Linked DNA regions of Homo sapiens: region 1 is linked to region 2. Evidence: promoter capture Hi-C in human tissues and cell types (Jung and others, 2019). All regions are on one chromosome and are shown on one strand. The core of a region is centred on a gene start or on the middle of the fragment in contact, and the rest is flanking DNA. Distances in the headings are between cores, read along the strand shown. Region 1 overlaps CCND3 (cyclin D3). Region 2 holds the start of PPP2R5D (protein phosphatase 2 regulatory subunit B'delta).

Region 1 (3,598 bases), core at 362-2,861, 1.0 Mb after region 2:
AGGCGATGGGGGTGGCGCGCGCCCTGTTCCGGCCGACAGGGAAATGAAAAGTGCAGGAGGCAGCGGCAGGAGCCTCCTCCCTTCCCCTCGGGTGTGTGCAGTGGTGGCGGTGATGGGGGTGAGGTCCCAGCTCTCTGGCTACCATGGGTGACCCTTGCGTCCCACTTCCCCTCGCTGTGGGGGAGGGGAGTCTCCGTTTGGAATCCTCCGTGAGCAAGGGCTCCTTGGCTTTACCACTCCCCCGTCAAGGGGAGAGGGGAGGAGGCCGCGCAGAGGAAGTGGGGGGCGTCACCTTGGGGAGGGCGCATCCTCCTCCTTTATTGGTCCTTGTCTCTCTAAGTAGCTTACCCTCTCTGCCGTTTTTGCTCCCTATCCCACCTCACTTCAGCGCTCCCACCCCCCCGCTGCTGTGTTCCCCACGCTCCAGACCCAGCAGTGACTGTGCGCCCTCCCCCAGGTATGTGAGGAGCAGCGCTGTGAGGAGGAAGTCTTCCCCCTGGCCATGAACTACCTGGATCGCTACCTGTCTTGCGTCCCCACCCGAAAGGCGCAGTTGCAGCTCCTGGGTGCGGTCTGCATGCTGCTGGCCTCCAAGCTGCGCGAGACCACGCCCCTGACCATCGAAAAACTGTGCATCTACACCGACCACGCTGTCTCTCCCCGCCAGTTGCGGGTGCGTGTGTAACTCCCCCCACCCCCGACACGTATTGTCTCCCCACTTTCCAGGAAAAGGAAAGCTTGAGATATCAGAGGCTTTCTGCCCCCTGGAGAGGAAGCAAGGGGATCAGGACCTTTGGGAAAGGAATTGGGGTGGAACAAACGATGGGGCATTGTGGTGTGATGGTTAGTATCACTCCCGCCCAGGCTTGAGCTGCAGGCAGGCATTAAACCCCCTCCTCCTGACCTCCAGGGGATGCCACTCCTTCCTGGTCTTTCCCCCAGATAGCAACAAGTCAAATTGCATGTCTACACTCACTAGTACTTTGCCTCTGGGTTTACGCAGCCACCATGAGTTATTTATTGGCAGCAGAAGGGCATGCCTGCACACCCCCACTGGAGTAGGGGAGTGGAATGTGCTTCATGTGGGGGAGGGGGTTTTGCCTTGGTTGAGTCTTTATCCTCATGTGGACTTTGTGATAGAAAAGCCTCCCAGAGCCAATTAAAGCCAGGCCCTGATTGCTTTAAGGAAGGGCTGATGTATTTCATCCCACCTTCTTTGCTTCCTCTTATATCCCGGAAGAAACAGCTTCTTCCTAATCCTTCCTCGTCCTCATTCTGAGGAACTGGAGCAGCTGCTTTGGGCCTGGTGGAAACAGCTCCCTCTTCCCCCCTTAGCCCAAGGCCCAAGCTGAGGGACAGACAGGGAGGTGAGCTGCATCTGCTTCCGATGTGATAATGGTGCCCCCTCCCCTGGCCCGCCCTCTCTGACCAAGGTCTTTCATAACCCTGTGGGGAGCTGCTGTCACTCCTGTGGTTTGGGAAGTGGCTCCCTGGGCCTCTTGCTGGAAACTTGGGCTGGGCTCAGGCCGGGCAGGAAAGTCACCGGTTCTGTCCCGCCTCAGAAGGAGCCTGGGGAGGAGGCGGGGGAGCTGCTGGATCTGGAAGAGGTTATTTAGGACATGCAGATTGTCTCCTAGGGAGGCTGGGGGAGAGGGTGGGTGAGCTGGCACCTTCCTCCACCTTGCTCTGTGGCGGGCCAAGTCTTCTGCTGACCCTGAGAGGAGTCTCTGGGCCCCATCTCCCAGGGAGGAGGGCAGCAAGCAGGCTGCTGTGATTGGCTGGCAGGGAAGCCAGGGTACTGGGGCCCCCGACTGCTGTGAGTCGAGGAACAGGATTCCTCTTCCTGCCAAGTAGCTCAGAGATGGGAGTAGGAGGCCAGAGTTGGGAATCCAGGAGGCGCCACAGCTCTTTGTGATGAATCTGGTAGTTTTTGGCAAGTCTGAAGGTGGAGCTAGTTTCCAGGGCCAGAGAGCAAGATGTTTTTGGAGGGGTTGGGGCTGGAAGGTAGAAGGGGAACTTCCTTTTTGTGAAAAGATGGAGGTGGTTTGTGTGCCCACGTATGAGGGTTTTTCAGTACAGGCAAAAAGTACTCTTCCCTCTGCCTGAGCTGGGGGTGGAGTGCCCAAAAGACTTCCTAGAAGGTCAAGGTTGGAAGGGACCTCTGAGAACTCCAGTTGGTCCAAATCCGTGTGCAGCAGAGGAGGCTGAGGCCCAAGGAAGGAGGGCAAGGTCCTGCCTCAGCATCGCACTGAGCAGATGAGTGTAGAACCTGGGTCTTCTAGCTAGACCAGGTTGCCTTAAAAGTCAGGAATGTGATGGCCGCTGCCACCTACTGAAGCTAAGCACTCCCAGGGGTGTGTTCTCCACCAGTTAACACTGGGATTCTCTGGTTGCCTGGATATGGGGAAAGGTGGCCACTTTCCCTCAAACACAACCCCTTGCCTCCCCATAGGGAGAGTCCCACTCCCAGTTGCCTTCCAGATGCTTCCTTAGAAGCTGAGTCCCTTCTGTTTACTGCTGAGTTAGGAGTTGGCTCCTGGGACATGCACTAGGGGTAGCGTTGTAATTTATCTGTCTCACTTCTGGCTCCAGGCCAGGCTATTTTCTCTGGGGCTCTGTGAGGGTAGGGGTTGATTTGAGAGGCTGACACCTAAGCTGGGGCCAAGAGAGAGACAGCTGTGGCTGGGGCCTGGAAGAGGTTGGGTGGGGTTGCCATTTCTGCCTCAATAAGGAGTCAAACCCACAAGTTCCTTCCTGAGATAAAACAATGAAGAAATCCTCATGTGTGCAACTCAGAAATGGGGCCAGGTCTGGGAACCCATGACGAGTGGACTGGGGTGGAGCTCCCAGCCTTCTCCCGAGACCTAGTACTGGCAGGTAGGCTTGGGTAGGTGAGGATAGGGCTTGATCCCTCTGGAATCATTTGGAGCCATCCTGTCTGGCTTGGCCTCTACCTATCCTCCTGAAAGTCAAGTGGCATGGGGCACTACGGGTTCCAGCTAAAGGGGGTGGGGTGGGGTGCTATACCTCAGGACCCATCCCTGATATCCTACCAAGGGGATGTGGCTTGGGTTGGGCAATCTCCCCTTTGAGGAACCTGAGAAAAGGCTCTGTGGCTGTCATTGGAGGAGTCATACTCCCTTCTGTTGATTCAAGAAGTGTGGACTTGGCTGGGATGCAGAGTTGCAGGGGAAGCTAGTGGTGATCTCCCCTTTCACAAATCCTTGGGGTTGAGAGAGTCTTTCTGCTTCATCCCAGAAGAGAGCCCAGTTCATGGTGATGCTGTGGTATCTGCTGCTTCCGTCTTTCAGCCCTGGCTGGAGAAATCCTCAGAGCCCTGAATGAAGTCAGGAGAAGGCCTGGATTATTGGCCCCTTAAACATAACCAGACAGGATTAAAAGGGATAATCCATGTAAAGCATGTTGTCCTGGCACCTAGTAAATGATCAGTAAGTGCTCAAAGCACATGCCTCCTCCTCTTCCCTGCCTTGAACTCCATGGTGCCCGGCCTTAAAATCAGAAACAGAACTGGGGTCTTGGGCTTTAAAAGTTTGATGGGCTTCCCTGCCTGAGACTTTGAGACTTCTGCTTTGCTCCC
Region 2 (4,117 bases), core at 1,488-3,987:
TTATCTTAGCACCTATCCACTAAGCACGTACTTACCGTGTGAAAAGGAGTTGTCAAACCAAAATGAAACTTAGTTATTATCTCAAAGGGGAAGAAAAGTCTTGTCCACAATTAATTCCCATCCAAGGCCAAACACAAAAGGACCATAAGTGGCCTACTAAGTGTTCTGCAAATCCAGAAAAGAAAGGAGAGTTCACTCCTGACTGAGGGCTCAGAAAGGCTTTAGAGAGGAAGCTGTGAAAGATGGCCAGGAGAGAGGGGACAGGTCATAGATGAGCAATAAAGATCCTCCACCCACAGCCATCCAGACAAACCTCAGTCACACTGGCAACCCCCCTGCCCCTTAGAGCCTGCCAACCATTGAAGAAGGCCAAATGCAACTGAAAATCAAGAGCAGAAAAACCTTATAGGGAGGTGAGAGTTATGCCTGGCTCCATGCACCCCGTTACTTCCAACACCCTTTCCCAACCAAACGTTTACACCCATGGTCCTAGCAAATCTCACTGGCAATTTGTCTTCTTCACAATCTAGTAGGCTATTGCTTTCTGTGGATGGGACAGTATCTAGTCCAACAGACTAAAAATTACAAATGGGTGGGGACCTCACCAGCTTTCCCCGAATTCCATTTCCCTTAGCCCCTGTTGTGGCTGATTTCTGTGTGCATTGTCTACGACTGAGCTACCCAAACCACCTCCGCATGCCCACTCCCCAAGGACAGGGCCTGGGTGGGGCACAAAACCCTGTCCAGCTCACTACTCCCAGGAGGCTCACTATCTAGTACACCATCACCAACCCTGTACTTAGAACCTCAGGCCCTGAAAGGTTAAGGGGACAACTCAGAATCAGAGCTGCCTGGCAAATACAGAACAGCCCCAGGAGAAAAAGTTTGATTGAAAAGGTCAGAGATGGCAGCCCAGTAACCCAGCCAATCAGAGGGCAAATGAAAGCAATATACCTCTGGGGTCATCGAGCAGGTGGCCAGAACACCAGGCCAGAGCCAACCCCCACCAAAAAGGGCCAGCCCCAGGAGAGGAGAAGCTGGGGGAGGCTGGAACTGGTATCCTAGCATCCTATGTGTGAGTCTGTACCTCAAAGGAACCACACCTCTGAGTCAGACCTCAGCAACAGCAGGAAACAGAGGGTAGAAAAAGGCACGGATGAGGAGCAGGGGAAGGCAGCACCGAGGTAGATGAGGAAGGTGAAAGAAGGCAACATTAAGAACTGGCCTGTGGGCCAGGCACGGTGGCTCACACCTGTAATCCCAGCACTTTGGGAGGCCGAGGGGGTCAGATCACCTGAGGTCAGGAGTTCAAGACCAGCCTGATCAACATGGAGAAACCCCGTCTCTACTAAAAATACAAAATTAGCCGGATGTGGTGGCGCATGCCTGTAATTCCAGCTACTTGGGAGGCTGAGGCAGGAGAATCGCTTGAAGCTAGAAGGCAGAGGTTGTGGTGAGCCGAGATCGCGCCATTGCACTCCAGCCTGGGCAACAAGAGCAAAATTCCATCTCAAAAAAAAAAAAAAAAAAAGAAATGGCCTGTGTCAGGACATCATGATAAAGACATGGGTGTTCAGGGGTGGCTGGCCTGCAGGCTAAGAAGGAACAATAATCTGACAGTGAGGACAAATTCCCAATTTGAAGATGGTGTAGCTTAGGAAAGGCAGAAATCCAGCACTGGTGCGAAAAGAAAAAAAAAAAGGAAAAATGCAAAGGTTATCCTAGGATTAAGAATAAGGGTGAGGAGCCTACTCAGATTAGGAAAGGTGACTGGTCTAGGATGCACTTGGGTGACAGTTAGGAGGGCTTTGATACAAAAGAGGCCTTTAAGTCAGGAGACCTGATATTGCAGCTGGGCCTCCAGCAGGCTGTGTGACCTTGGACAAGTCCCTTGCCCTGTCGGGGCCTCAGTCTCCTCATCTGTACCATTAGGGATTGCACTGCATGCGCTCAGAGGTCCCTTCCAGCACCAACGTTGTGAGGTTCCATCAACAGAAGGGCTCAGTCCTGCTTACAAGTTTGTGTGTGAAGGAAGAACTAGAGGGAGGGGCCTAGGCCAGATTTGGGTGGAGGAGAGAGAAAGCAGCGCTGTTCTAGGTCAGGGGCTTGGCATGGAAAGAGAAGGGGCCGTAGGGGACTGCGGGGCGGCTGTCCCAGGCGGGTAGGAAGAGGAGACAAGGGGCTGCTCAGGGCGGGGCGAGGGGGCAATTCTGGAGGAAGGTGCAGTTTCAGATGAGGGGCTGCCCAAACCGAAGGGGGATCGGGGCCAGGGGTGATGGGGGGGACAGAAAAAGCAGGACAGTGACCTGGGAATGGGGCAGATCTGGAAGAAGGAGGTTACCCTGGGCCGGGGGTAAGAGAAGGGAAGAAGGGAGGGAGGTGTATGTGGGGGGAGTCTCTCCGGGGCAAGGTGGGGGAGCTGTCCTAGCTGCGGCACAAGCTGGGGGTGCTGCCAGCCGCGGGGGCGGAGGGCTGGCCCCAGGAGTCCTGCGGGGGCTGGACGGGAGGGTCAGTCTGGGGCTGTCCCGGGCCTGGCTCCGGCCCCTCCCAGAGCTCCGCGCAGGCTCCAAGGCGGCGGTGGGGGAAAAAGGGCCACGCTCACCTTCTCCTTTTTCAGTTTATAGGGCATCTCGGCCCGTCCGGACCCGGCCCGTCTCCTGCGGCCCCGCTCCGGCTCCGGCTTTGCTCGGCCGCACTCGGCCCGCTCGGCGTCTCTTCGCCACCGCCTGCGCGCTGCGCCCGGGTCGAGCGGTGCCTGCGCCTCCAATTGGCCCGAACTCCTACAAAACTGCCTGACAACCAGGCGCCGCCTCCTCGGATTGGTCATTGGAGCCAAGCTGCTTCCTTTTTTTCTTATTGGAAAGAAATAGTACAAACCGCCAGGGTTCGGCTTCCAGAATTGGCTGAAGTGGGTGGTCCCGCCCTAAAGTGGGTCGAGCTTAGAGAAGGAGGCGGGGATAAGGGGAAACCCAAGCTTGGCTAGGAGGGCTGCACTCCAGCGTCTGCTGTGCGTCGGCCTCGGCCATTCTTCGCGGCGCTTGGAGCCCTGCTCTTTCCTTCTAAAGGCTCTCACACTTTGCCCGCTCTGCTACCCTGTCCAGTCGGAATTGGAGGAAGGAAGCCCTAATACGGAGGGCACCTTTCTTCACTGGGGTAAAGTAGCCCTAATTGCAGATGCAAAATTGATGGAGGGAGCTCCCAAGGACCTTCCAAGACACCCGCCTCCCTAGACAGGGGTTGCAGAGGAGCAAAGGGGAAGCCTGGCAGGGCTAGGACCTGGGCGAAATGAGTGGAGAATCCCTGGCTTGGTGCAACTTTAGGAAGAGGGTCCCCGTTGCTACTGCAAGTGTACTGGGATTGGGGAACCAGCTAGATTTGAGCAGTTGGGAACGCAGTGGAAAAGCAACTTCATTGTTGACTGTCTCAGGAAATCCATCCCTTACTTGCCACCCTGCTCAAGTCCGTGTTCTAATGGGTAAGACTCAGTTTATGCCCACAAAGAGTTCGCAGTCTGGTGAATCACAGATGTGTATAAACAAAGGATTAAGAGAGAATGTAAACCAGGCAGGCACGGTGTCTCACGCCTGTAATCCCAACACTTTGGGAGGCTGAGGCAGGAGGATCACCTGAGGTCAGAGGTTCGAGACCAGCCTGGCCAACATGGCGAAACCCCGTCTCTATTAAAAATACAAAAATTAGCTGGGTGTGGTGGTGCACGCCTGTAATCCCAGCTACTCGGGAGGCTGAGGCAGGAGAATCACTTGAACCCGGGAGACGGAGGTTGCAGTGAGCCGAGATCACACCACTGCACTCCAGCCTGGGCGACAGAGCAAGACTCTGTCTCAAAACAGCAACAATGACGACAAAAAGAATAAACCTGTGGCCAGGCTCGGTGGCTCACGCCTGTAGTCCCAACACTTTGGGAGACCAAAGTGGGCAGATCACGAGGTCAGGAGTTTGAGACCAGCCTGACCATAGTGGTGAAACCCCATTTCTACTAAAAATACAAAAATTAGACAGGGTGCGGTGGCTCACGCCTGTAATCCCAGCACTTTGGGAGGCCGAGGTGGGCGGATCACGAGTCAAGAGATCGAGGCCATCCCGGCCAACATGGTGA

Evidence for each region. The method cuts DNA at HindIII sites, captures the fragments that hold promoters and counts their contacts. A contact is called where the count stands out against the background at its distance.
Region 1: a contact is called between a fragment that was not itself captured here and the fragment with the promoter of PPP2R5D in region 2, in 1 of the 25 tissues and cell types used here (hippocampus).

Annotation. Positions count from the first base shown.
Region 1 is chr6:41,937,445-41,941,042 of GRCh38, reverse strand. CCND3 (cyclin D3) reads left to right here. Exons shown (of 5, transcript NM_001760.5): 2 at 458-673. Among named protein-coding and RNA genes, the nearest start is that of CCND3, 2.6 kb to the left of the region's middle. RefSeq lists enhancers at 1-4, 47-176, 1,258-1,552, 1,133-1,948, 1,949-2,764. The HindIII fragment of the contact is 4,830 bases long and covers 1-3,598 here.
Region 2 is chr6:42,983,190-42,987,306 of GRCh38, reverse strand. PPP2R5D (protein phosphatase 2 regulatory subunit B'delta) reads right to left here and starts at 2,737. Exons shown (of 16, transcript NM_006245.4): 1 at 2,603-2,737. The coding sequence starts at 2,629. LOC124900215 (a long non-coding RNA gene) reads left to right here and starts at 2,993. Exons shown (of 2, transcript XR_007059580.1): 1 at 2,993-3,475. RefSeq lists silencers at 2,379-2,528, 2,619-2,688 and an enhancer at 2,839-2,958. The HindIII fragment of the contact is 19,136 bases long and covers 1-4,117 here.